4 separate regions of the Homo sapiens genome follow, and all the other regions are linked to region 1. The links are contacts of gene promoters, found by promoter capture Hi-C in blood cells and fetal thymus (Javierre and others, 2016). All regions are on one chromosome and are shown on one strand. Each heading gives the region's core, a stretch centred on a gene start or on the middle of the fragment in contact. The rest is flanking DNA. Distances are from core to core; before and after follow the strand shown. Region 1 holds the start of CCDC184 (coiled-coil domain containing 184). Region 2 overlaps LOC105369750 (a long non-coding RNA gene). Region 3 holds the start of H1-7 (H1.7 linker histone). Region 4 overlaps SENP1 (SUMO specific peptidase 1).

The links. The method cuts DNA at HindIII sites, captures the fragments that hold promoters and counts their contacts. A CHiCAGO score of 5 or more calls a contact.
Region 2: a contact is called between a fragment that was not itself captured here and the fragment with the promoter of CCDC184 in region 1, in 1 of 17 cell types (megakaryocytes). The highest score is 6.7, in megakaryocytes.
Region 3: a contact is called between the fragment with the promoter of H1-7 here and the fragment with the promoter of CCDC184 in region 1, in 4 of 17 cell types (M1 macrophages, monocytes, neutrophils and 1 more). The highest score is 6.1, in M1 macrophages.
Region 4: a contact is called between a fragment that was not itself captured here and the fragment with the promoter of CCDC184 in region 1, in 2 of 17 cell types (megakaryocytes and erythroblasts). The highest score is 7.4, in megakaryocytes.

What each region holds. Positions count from the first base shown.
Region 1 is chr12:48,182,077-48,185,042 of GRCh38, forward strand. CCDC184 (coiled-coil domain containing 184) reads left to right here and starts at 1,568. Exons shown (of 1, transcript NM_001013635.4): 1 at 1,568-2,966. The coding sequence starts at 2,047. The coding sequence ends at 2,631. The HindIII fragment of the contact is 3,853 bases long and covers 1-2,966 here.
Region 2 is chr12:48,029,439-48,032,404 of GRCh38, forward strand. It overlaps LOC105369750 (a long non-coding RNA gene), which reads left to right. Exons shown (of 4, transcript XR_944904.3): 3 at 333-480; 4 at 1,651-2,010. Among named protein-coding and RNA genes, the nearest start is that of COL2A1, 26 kb to the left of the region's middle. The HindIII fragment of the contact is 2,215 bases long and covers 399-2,613 here.
Region 3 is chr12:48,327,534-48,330,499 of GRCh38, forward strand. H1-7 (H1.7 linker histone) reads left to right here and starts at 1,447. Exons shown (of 1, transcript NM_181788.1): 1 at 1,447-2,746. The coding sequence starts at 1,759. The coding sequence ends at 2,526. RefSeq lists an enhancer at 2,205-2,704. The HindIII fragment of the contact is 4,449 bases long and covers 1-2,966 here.
Region 4 is chr12:48,047,411-48,050,376 of GRCh38, forward strand. It overlaps SENP1 (SUMO specific peptidase 1), which reads right to left. Exons shown (of 18, transcript NM_001267594.2): 14 at 1,519-1,722; 15 at 591-670. Among named protein-coding and RNA genes, the nearest start is that of COL2A1, 44 kb to the left of the region's middle. The HindIII fragment of the contact is 4,419 bases long and covers 1-2,966 here.

The DNA.
Region 1 (2,966 bases), core at 318-2,817:
GGTCATTTAGGATAGTCCCCACTTGTTTCTATTTTAAAAGCAGTAAGATTGGTATAGGTCAAGCAGTCCTCTAGTGTCACAAAACTTTCCCTGGGCCAGCCTCACTCTTCATCACCAAGCACATAACCAGGGAAACCCAAAGGTAACACATTTGCTGTCACTGAACCGCCAGTCTACAAAACACTCACCTTTACGTAGTTCTTCTCTATCTTGAAGTGATATAGTTTGTTTCTCTTTCCCAGATTTATTCTTATGAACTTCATTTTTGGCTTCCGATCACTTGGCTTCCCTAATTTCCTAGGGTCATTATTAATTATTGTGCTCTGCCCAGGTGCTGATTCCTTCTCAATCTGCAATCATCTACGTATATTAAAGACAATTTTTCTTCTTCCTCCACCCTTCCTGCTCCACCCCTTAAATAGGGAAAGGGCTTGTCACAAAGGTTGGGGATACTCAGTGTATGTCTGAACTTGGGCACTGAAAGAGAGAGCGGGAATTACTCTAACACACAGTCCCCCCATCCATACCCTCCACACAACGGTCAACAGTTTACCTTTTCACCTGTGAGATGATGCAGACTGTTATTCAGAATTAGAAATAGTATTATAGATTATCCAGTCCAATTCCCTAACAGATGAGGAAAATGATGTGGCCAAGGTCGCTGAATGAATAAGTGGCAGAAACGAAACTGAATTCAGGTCTCCTAAAACCCACTACGTTTGGCTTGGGGAGTTCTGGATGAGAGCGTGGGACTTGGTGGTTTTTGTTATTCATTCAATAACTATATTAAGCATCTACATACTAGGTGCCAGGCACTATTTTAGGAGCTGGGGATTCCGTGATGGAGGGTGCAGGGGAGACAAAAATCTCTCCCCTTATGGAGCTTTCATTCTCAAAACTTAAGCACTTGGCCTCCCCATCTGGGACAAACTCCCAGAGACCTGCGTAGGAGCGGTAGGGTCTCATAAAGGAGGGAGTCCCATCCTTCCCCCGCTCCGGTGATTTCTATAGCTAGAGGGCTGATTTACTGCAGAAACCTCCGTAGCGCCCTCCTCCTGCCTCTGCACCGTCAGGCCCGGTGGGTCCGGCTCCAGAGCGCCACCGTGCCCCAGCTCAACTCTGGGATCATTAGCAACAGCCTCTCTACCCTCTCCGCTTTCCTGCGCATCGCTGGAGGACAGGGAGGCAGGACTCGACTTTAGCGCCATCCTCTGAGAAAGGAATGCGGGCTGGAAAAATCTTTCCAGGGCAGTCTCGCTGGGTCTCATACCCCGGCTAGGGGAGGGACGATCTCTCCCGGACTTGGAGGTTTCTGCAGCAGACGGCTCTCTCATACTTCCCTATTAAACATTGCGACCACACGCTCTTTCCAGCCTTGGCCGAAGCCACTGTAGCGTCCCCTCTCCTCCCCCCACCCCGCTAGTCCAGACTCCAGAGCCCCACTGCAGCTTCCAGCCATCCTCCCTTTTTCTTCGCCACTTCCTGGTTACCATGGAGACACACGTCATTTACGTGCCGTGCGTCGCCTTGGAAACAGAGGAGCATCCGCGACACCCCCGGGAGACCCACCCCAGCTGCTGCTGCCACACTCGCGGGCGCTGCCCGGTAATGGCCTGGGGGAGTCCCGAGTCCGACGCGCCGCTGGCCTCAGCCTGGACGCGGACCCCTCCGCGAGCGCGTCTGTGACCCACGGAACCGGCAGGCGCTCTCTGCTTGTGGCGCCCAGAGGGCGGCGCTGACACGGGCGCGATCCGGGAGGCGAGGCAGGGCAGGGCACTTTCGTCCCGGGGCGATCCCAAGAGACGCCGGCTCTGGGACCCTCGCCGGGTCCTCGTCCCGCAGCCTCTTCTCGGCCTCCCGCGATCCTGCCTGCGCCCTCTGCCCAGGACTCGTCTCTCACGTCGGCTCCCCGCCAGTCTCGGGAGCCTCCGCTTCCCTCGGCTCCCGCTAGCCCCTCCCGGGACCTCTCCCCCTCCACCCCCTCCCCCACCCCGGAGGCCGGGCTGGACGCGACCCAGAGCCTCCGCCACCCGCTTCTGCCACTCAATGGAGGACGGTCTGCTGGAGATCATGACCAAGGACGGCGGCGACATGCCGGCGCCCCTGGAGGTGTCCACCGTGCCGGCAGTGGGGGACGTGATCTCCGGGGAGTACAACGGCGGCATGAAGGAACTGATGGAGCACCTGAAAGCCCAGCTGCAAGCCCTGTTTGAGGACGTGAGGGCCATGAGGGGGGCCCTGGACGAGCAGGCCTCGCACATCCAGGTGCTCTCGGACGACGTGTGCGCCAACCAGCGAGCCATCGTCTCCATGTGCCAGATTATGACCACTGCGCCCCGCCAGGGCGGCTTGGGCGTGGTCGGCGGCAAGGGGAGCTTCCAGAGCGACCCCCAAGAGCCGGAGACTCCTTCGCCTGGGATCGGGGACAGCGGCTTGCTGGGTCGCGATCCCGAGGACGAGGAGGAAGAGGAAGAAGAGAAGGAGATGCCCAGCCCCGCCACACCCTCCAGTCACTGTGAGCGCCCCGAAAGCCCCTGTGCTGGTCTCCTTGGGGGGGACGGGCCACTTGTGGAGCCCCTCGACATGCCCGACATTACCCTGCTGCAACTGGAGGGCGAGGCCTCCCTGTGAGGGGACTCCGTGGGGCACTACCTTCCCGGGCTGTCTTTGGGTTTCCGAGTGCATGACGCGAGGGGGACTGAACGGCGCGGTGCGGCATGCTTCACTTGGACAGCTGCTCTTGTGGGTCAGGCAGAGAGAGACTCCCTCGAGGAAGGATTTGTAGGGTGAAGGACTTTGGGAGCATCGAGAATTCTTTCTGCCCAACTAAGCGAATTATAGCGAACTGCGGAAAGGTGAGGCTCCGGGAGAGGAAGCGCCCATCTCTGGACTCCCATCCATCCCTATCCTGTCCTTTCCCCCTTCCCAGACAACAGGAGAACCCGTGAATTGTGTAAATAAAATTC
Region 2 (2,966 bases), core at 256-2,755, 150 kb before region 1:
AATTTGGGTTACGCCTGCATTTGAATCTGACTCTCCCCTACAGATGCCGGACCCAAGACTCTGGCCCCAGTGGTGAGGCAGGGACCCCAAGGTTCCAGCCATCTCCTCCTGGCCTGACTGGGGCTGCAGGGGACCTGTGTCAGTCTCCCTCCTTGGCGCCCCCTCCCCCATCCCAGACCCCTGGCCTCTTGATATCCCGGCAGCAGCCCCCACAGCCCCTCTGGGGTGGTGGGCGTCCCTGTGTCGGCACAGCTAGGCTGGGCCCCTCTCCAGGGAAGGGGCTGAAGGGTGTGAAGGACTGGTGTGTATGACTTTGTTTATTTTCTCTGAAGAATCCTGCCTGAGCCCTGCTATAAAAATAACCTGCCTGGAAACCTCATCTCCAAGGGGTAGAAAGAAGCTTTTGTATCCAGGGAAGCTGCTCTAACTGCCTCCCTGTACCTTCGCCTCAGCCCATGCATCAAGGAGGAGCCAGCCAAGGTGATGAGGGGCCAGGGCAAGGGAGAGGGATGTGTGGGGAGGGAGGAGGGGACGGAAGGGCAGCTCAGCAGCCTCTTGCCCTGAGCACGGCAGAAGCCTCTCACTTGTCTGCTCGACCCAGGAAGATCCAAAGGAGGAACTGAGGGAGAGAGAGGGAAAGAGGAAGTCAACAAGAGAAAAAAACACTGGATGTTGAGAGAGACAAGGAGGCCAGGAGACAGAAGATCAAATCCAGGACAGAGGAGGGGCATGGGGAGAGTGGGGAGGAGAGTGAAGTCAAAGGAGAAAGAAAACCAAGAGACGTGTATGCAGAGACACAGAGCTCAAGGGATCAGAAAGAGGCTGTGGCCATGTTTACAGACGTAGCTTAGCATGTGGTCCCCACCACCAAGGGAGAAAGCAGGCACAGCCAGGCTGTCCCTGCCACCTGCTGGGTTCCTGCTCTGCTGCACAGCCCAGCTTCCACTCTGGCTCAGGCTGTGGCAGAAAAGACAAAGGTCCCCCGAGCACCCACTATGGCCAGGCCCTGGGTGAGGCATGAGACCAAGCCCCACTAAGGCTTCTCAAAGTGTTCCTTCCCAGGAGCCAGGCCTGATGGCACGGAGCAAGTCTGCACTGTCACCAAATTCAGGAGGCCTGGATTCAAGTCCCAGTTCTCCTGCTTTTTAGCTGGGTGATCTTGTACAAACCACTTAGAATTTCCCAGCCTGGTTCTCTTATCTGTAAACCATAAATAGTAAACCTCCCTGTCTACCTCCCGGGGCTGTTGAGCAGATCTATGGAAGCATATCTGAACAGGTTCTCCAAGTTGTATGGTGCCAGCAAGACAAGAGGGAATGACCCATTCCTTTAGCCATATTTCTCTAGGTAGCCATCTTAGGATCATGGGTGAGCCATACGGAGAATGAACCAACATAGGAAACTCCTATTACCTCTGTTTTCACAGTAGAGGAAACTGAGGCTTAAACAGGTTAGTAACATGCTCACCATCGTGTATTAATAGCTCTTAGGCAACAGAACATGAATCCAGGTCTCTATATTCAGAGTCTGTGTAGACCCAGAGTGCTGGGCCTTCTCTCCAATCTAATGGCAGAGGCTGCCCAAGAATGACCTGGGACAGTCTGCTCCACTTCCTTTAAGGATGAATTAATTTCCAATTGTTCTATGCAGGCCAGACCTATCTCTCCTTGGAGACTGCACAAGCAGGTGAGCATTAAAGGAAGGCGGGAGGCCAATTTTTGCCCAGCATTAGGAAGAACATTGCTATTGTTCCAGCAATGAAGTGAGCTGCCTGAGAGAGTCCGAGCTCTCTGTGGCTGCGAGGCCAGCAGGCCAGGACTTGCAGAGACCACTGGTGCCTATAGGAGGCACATGCTGGGCTTGACAAAAGAAAGCCCAACATTTTATACCCCTTAAGTCATCCCCAGCCCATGCCTTGTTTCCCCATCCGCACAGTGGTTGGAGCAAGACTAGATGAAGGCTGAGGTCTTGTCTAGCTCTAACTTTCTAGAATTCTGGAATTCCTGAAGGCAGGACTCCAGGCCTCAGGGTCTGGCCAAGAGAACAGAGACGTGGCTGTTTGTCCAGCTTGGTAGAACAGTGGAGCTTATTGAGCTTGCGGTTCCCTGAAACAGAACCAGTCAAAAGGCATACGCAGAGAAGGTAAATTCATCTGTGGGTCTGGTGAGAGTCACTGAAAAAAATGTAGTGCTTGAGGACTGTCCAAGGAGAGCCAATTTTCAACTCATAGCCTGTGATGCTGCGCCCAAACAATGAGAACAGCACACTGGGCTTCATCCAACCACGGCCAGAGGGAAAACAGTGATCTTGCAGATGATGTCCTCATCGATAGCACAGTGACCAAGCGGCCCTGCATGGTGGGGGCCCCTTAAAATGGTTCCCCTTCCCTTGCAGGCCTGGTCAGGTGGTGTTTGTAAAGCAAAGGGAACCCTTTTAGAAATTTGCCTTGAATTAAACGATTGTTGTTCATGAGACCAAGAAGTGTTTATTTCAGCAACAGAAAGACCTTCCTAAGTTTTGAGCCCAGAATTAGAGTGAGGCGGGCTGGGGTCTACTCCCTGGATATGTTTGAGTTAGACTAGAGGCTGGGAAGTGGACAAGATGCTGTTGTAAAGCTTCTAGTGATCGCTATGGGACGTTCCTTCCACTCTTTGCTCTAATGACGATTAATGTTGATGCAGTGACTATTTTAATGTGCTTAGACACCTGCAACCCCATTTGGCCTTCACTACAATATGCGAAGTAACTGGCTAATATTATGTAGGTAGTAAATAGATAAGATTATGCCCATCTTAGGAGAAAATGGAGGATCAGAGAGGGTAATTCTAAGGGCCCTCAGTTAGCAAATGATGGCTTTGAGGCTTGAACCTAAGCCTCTTGGCCCCAAATGCTGTGCTCTTCATAGCACTCTGCCATCCCTCTGCCCCCATTTTGGGGCCATGCAGGGCTGATTTTTCCAGGCTGCT
Region 3 (2,966 bases), core at 197-2,696, 150 kb after region 1:
CAAAAAAAAAAAAAAAAAATTAGCTGGATGTGGTGGCACATGCTTGTAATCCCAGCTTCTTGGGAGGGTGAGACACAGGAATTGCTTGAACCCAGGAGGTGGAGGTTACAGTGAGCCAAGATTGTGCCATTACATAGCCTGGGCTGAGCAAGACTCTGTCTCAAAAAAAAAAAAAAAAAGCACTGGTCTAAGCTACTTCCTGGAGCTTTGATTTTTAAAAGAAACTGTCACTGTCTAGCCTGTGACTGATGAATGTATGTGATTGCCCTCTGGAAAAGTATGATATGCTTGGCAATTTGAAGTATTCTTAGAATAATACTTTAAATTATTCCCAACTAAACTGTGTCCAAAATAGGTCCTTGATAAGCTAATCCTTACTTGGCCCCCTTCATTTCCAACCCTTTGAAATTCACTCTGCTCCTTTCTCCTGATCTTCTGGAAGTTTCTTTCTGAATCTAGAGAAACTCTCCTCACCAGAGAGGAATGATGTAAGCAGGCTCAATTAAATGCCCGCTGTGTATAATGAAGCATATTGTTAGGTGCAGCATGGGACATAGAAGTTCAAAGACTATAGCTCTTGAGGATATCTTTATTTAGTTGGAAATACAAGACAGAAACATTCAAAGTAAAGTAAATTTATTCCTTATATTTAGGTAGCCCTTGTTCATCTACCTCTTCTGAAATTTTGCAATAATTCTGTGATGTTGGTAGGAAGGGAATGTGATGTTAGATAAGAAGTCAGATGGCCGGCACATCCATCTGACAGCCACACCACTGATATTAAGGGATTTGTTAATGTCATATGGCTCCTAAAGAGCTAGGATATGCATCCATATCTTCCAGCTCCAAGTACGAGTTTTTTTCTTTTTAAAAAATATTGTGTCACATTATACCCTCTAATGCCAAATTCATTTAAAATAAAGAAAAAGCCATATAAGATTGCAGAAGTAATTTTGGTGGTTGTGGTAGTTAAGAGGCAAGAAATCATTTGAAAGAGTTTGGGGAGTCTTCAGTGAAGAAGGATAATGTAGCAGTACCTTGAAAGATGAGCAGGACTTATCTGGGCAGACAAAGAGGATGAGAAATCCAAGAGAGGGGATGAGATGGAAAAAAACACAGTATGTTCAAAGAATAATGATTAGACCAGTATCCTCAGGCGATGTGAAATCTAGATTGTTTCAGTACAGTTGAATGCGTCATCTAAATTTCCCAGGTGTGGGAATCAGTGTTTAGGGTAGAGGGATCACACAATTGGTTCCTTTTTTACTTCATGCTCTTGCACAGAATCCACTGTGTAGAATTAGGGAGACATGACTTCAGATACCTGACTGGTGGAATTAAAGGTGGGAGTTTCTAATCTGGGTTGTGTTTCATGGACTACCCCGTGTACTTTCTACAGGCAGTGTGTTGCTTGTTTTGGATAGTTGGGAGCAGCTTCGCTCACCTTAAGGAACTGTGGGTAGATGGTTTGCAGGACCACATACACACACAAAATAGCCGACTAAAGAAAGCGGTGGAGATCGAGATCAGTAAGTTTGATTTGGGAACAAAACCCTGGAGACTCTATAGGTAGGTGACTGTTGGGGGTGGACAGGCGCTGAAGACTTGGATTGGTTTAGACCTAGAAGGAAGTGGCATTTGATTGGTTATTATAAGTGAAAAGGGCCCCTCCCCGGGTGAGATATGCCAGCCCCATAATTAGGACCTGAAAATCTCTGCCAGGCCTGCCTTTGTGACGTGGCCCAGTCTACCTCAGCTATGGAACAGGCCTTGACTGGTGAGGCCCAAAGCCGGTGGCCCCGCAGAGGCGGGAGTGGGGCCATGGCTGAGGCGCCTGGGCCCAGTGGCGAATCCCGAGGACACTCAGCCACTCAGCTGCCAGCGGAAAAAACTGTCGGGGGACCATCGAGGGGCTGCTCAAGCTCCGTGCTCAGAGTGTCCCAGTTGGTGCTCCAGGCCATCTCCACTCACAAAGGGCTGACTCTGGCAGCTCTCAAGAAGGAGCTCCGAAACGCCGGCTACGAAGTGCGCAGGAAGAGCGGCCGCCACGAAGCGCCCAGGGGGCAGGCCAAGGCCACGCTCCTCCGGGTCAGCGGCAGCGACGCCGCCGGCTACTTCAGGGTCTGGAAGGTTCCCAAGCCCAGGAGAAAGCCGGGACGCGCGAGGCAAGAGGAGGGCACGCGCGCTCCCTGGAGGACCCCAGCCGCGCCCCGGAGCTCCCGGAGGCGCCGCCAGCCCCTTCGCAAGGCGGCCAGGAAGGCCAGAGAAGTGTGGAGACGGAACGCGAGGGCGAAAGCCAAGGCCAATGCCAGGGCGAGGAGGACCAGGAGGGCAAGGCCGAGAGCCAAGGAGCCGCCGTGTGCCAGAGCCAAGGAGGAAGCGGGAGCGACAGCGGCAGACGAGGGGCGAGGACAGGCCGTGAAGGAAGACACCACGCCGAGGTCAGGGAAGGACAAGAGGCGAAGCTCCAAGCCCAGGGAAGAGAAGCAGGAGCCCAAGAAGCCCGCACAGCGGACCATCCAGTAGCCAACGCGGGCTAAAACCGACCGGACATCTAGCGGGCAGGGGAAGACTCCACTAAAGACTTCCACAAAGACCTCCCCTAAATCTGAAGGTCTTCCTGATCCAGTTGGGAATGCATCTTGTGGGAGCAGCTTCACTCCCACCACGGACCAATGCCTTTCCCCCATAGGCCCCAAGAAGAGCGGCTGTCACACTCATTGAAATGAAATGGACCTCTAGACCACCTTGTGTCTGTTTCCTCTTTGCCGCACCTGGAAGGGAAGGGGTGGGTGGTGGTAACGTTCAGTGAAGACAGTAAATTAGCTGAGATTCTGTTCCTGCTGCAGAACTCAGAGAAATGTCTTTTAGAAGGAGAGAAAACAGAGGAAAACCAGCAGCTTAACAAGTGTTGAAGTATTGTTAGATACTCTAGCAAATCCAAATTGAGTTCTGGGGAGGAAGGC
Region 4 (2,966 bases), core at 302-2,801, 130 kb before region 1:
AAAGTGTTTTTCTGGTACTATTGAGGTATTTATTTACTACTGTTAGGCTTGGCTCTCCTATCTAAAAATTAAATCCAAATCAACAATGTATTGAGTGCATACCTTCAATAGAGCTCTCTTTTAAGTGCAAACTGTTCACCATTGTGGAATGTACTTCCTCCTGGCCATCAGAGTGGTACAGTGAGGAATAGGTATTTTGGAAAATGAAACAGGTGGAGCATAAAGAGATTTGCATTCTGGTCCACCTGAGCCACTAACTAATAGGACCTGGGCAAATCAAAGGCACCTCTGTGGGCCTTGGTCTCTTCATCTGAAAAATTAGGAGGTTGGATTAAATGATTTCTAAGTAGCATCTATATCTTTATATCTAGTCTACATTTTAGTGCATTAGGATAGTAATTGCTCCCATTAGGGCATACTTTGGTATTGTTTTTAAACTAAACTTACTTAGATACAAAATATGCATTTTTACTTAATATGAAGATTTTATCAATCACTCCATTGAAGGTATCAAACAACTGAGTTCAATTACTGGAAAAACACCACCTATACCCGATATCAAACTCTTCTGTCCTCAACTCCCTACTTACAAGAGTATTCTGCAGGCTTCATTGTTTATCCCACCCATGGAGTCGTAATAGGTAATATTCTTCTTTCTAAAGTCCACAACCTGAGAATAAGAAAAAAAGTCTCTGTGTTTATGAGATGAAGAAAATCGGTTTATCAGTTTTTCCCTTCCCTGCCCTTTGGAACCTTTTGCCAGACTTCCTACAAAATCATGACAAGTTTGACTGATATTTTGCATTATATTATGCTTAATCTGTAGAGAAAAAAAATGAAGGGTTATTTACATAAAACTATGATGGCACTCATCAACAGGTGGCCCCATTATTGCTGTGAAGCCTTTTTCTAATGTTCATTCTCTCCCTCTGCAAAGTGGGCAACAGTGAAGAAACTACATGATTTTCAGGGAATATAAGGTGAGTATCTCAAAATCACTTCCACAAAGTTTCAGAAAGATGGTGAGCAGATTCTGGGTTTTATTTCTTTATATTGAGAAGTTCCTTTTGGCTTTATGCTTTTGAAATGTAATCCAAAACAGACTGTGAAATAGTTTTATTAACACATTAAGCTAATGCTCACAGAGTCATAAAAATATTAAATTACCAAGTATGCAAGGTAAGTTATGATTAGGCTGAAAATAACAGTCACAGAATCTGAGTGGCAGCATCATTAATAAGTCACTTTTTTTCCCCCATGCCTTCCTTTAAGGCTGCTTAGACACCCTATAACTCTCTTTTAAATATTTCTAGAAAGGGAAATTCCACAGCTTTCTTCAAAATCTACATCCCAATCTTGATAGGAAGTTCATAGATCTATCTGATTTTAGTCAACCTACTACTAAACACTCTTTCTCTCAATAATCAAGGGAACATGTAGAACTACTACTCACTACCCTCTGTGTGTTCTATAAGTACATAGCTTTTACATTTTATCAAAAATGAAAGGGGTACTCACAGCTAGACACCAGTGTACTCCCAGGTGAATGGGCACCAAAAGAATGTCAACAGAAAATACATCTACTTTCTTTGTCCAACGTTTCACTGCCTGATAACCAGCCGTTTTTAATTTAGTGAAGAAAAAGGTATTAAATGCATGCACACTTGGCAAGCCCTTCTCTTTACTTCGCTCCATCAGCATATTCATGTAGAAATTGATGATCTGTGGGAAGAAATTACACCTATTAGAATAGACACTCAGGCCTAGCCTTTCAAAATAGTTGCAGTTGCTGTGTTGAATAGCATATGTAATTGTTTCCTAATAAACTGAATTAAGTCTTCAACATCCAACAGATTCATTTCTCTAAATCAAATTCTGACTAGAAGGGGGAAGGCTGAAGTGCTATAAATGGTGAAAAGAGAAAAAGCTGACATATATATTATGGGGTTGGGAGTACAAATGGGCAGACGCTGGCCAGGCTTGTAGAAGACTGAAGGTTAGGTCAAAAGACTGCAGGAAGACAGGGGTGTTAAGGTGAGGCTTACAGAAAAGGAGAGGAAGGCATGCAAGCAGTTTAATAATGCACATTAGCAGTTACCTTTATCTACTGGAACTGTGTGAGCAATTTAAGTAGATACTGAGCTCAGTTAGCGCCTAGTGTTAGTCAAGTTAAAATCAAGAACTCAAATTTTATATGACAGCCACATGGTTTTACACAAAGATGGAAAACTCTGCTCCATGGTTAAAGACTGCCTTTTCAACTTAATAACCCATCCTGCAGAGGCAAACTCTTTTGGTCTCAAGTAGAACTAAGTGACAGGAGAAGCCATTAATTATACTGGAAAAACACCTGTAAACTGATAGTAGCTCAGCAATGTCACCTTTATATAAAGGCACACATGGAAGTATAAAAACCTACCTTATATGAGACCTAAAGTCAAGTCACAAACATGAAGAATAACGTTCTACCCCAGAATCTATATGGTTAGCTTTCTCATCTTTGTTGATTCCATTTATGCCTTCAATATTAAGTGTGGAAAGAAATTACAATGGCTGAGTGGGGAGATGTGTGATTCTTTGTTAATGAAACGACATCTTCTCTAATAGTGACTATGTTGTGTATGGTTCCATTAGGTCCAGGACTCTTTGGTACTAAAACTTGAAAGTTATCGTGCCGGAAGTTACTGCATACTTACTTTATGTGGCCAGCTGAGGTCAGGCCAGTGTCTGTCAACTGCAAGGAATGAATGGGCTAACTGATCCACGGCTTGGAAATATGACTAAGAAAACAGGCACATTTTTCAGAATGCTTTTTGGGGAATGGGAAAATGCCCCTGTTCTTTGACAAATATTTACACACCAGGATGCCAGAACAGTGAGCTACTGCCCAACAGTAAGCAACGACATACTGGGTAGGCAGCAGGGGAACACTGCCAGGAACACACCGGAGCACGGTCTAGACCAGA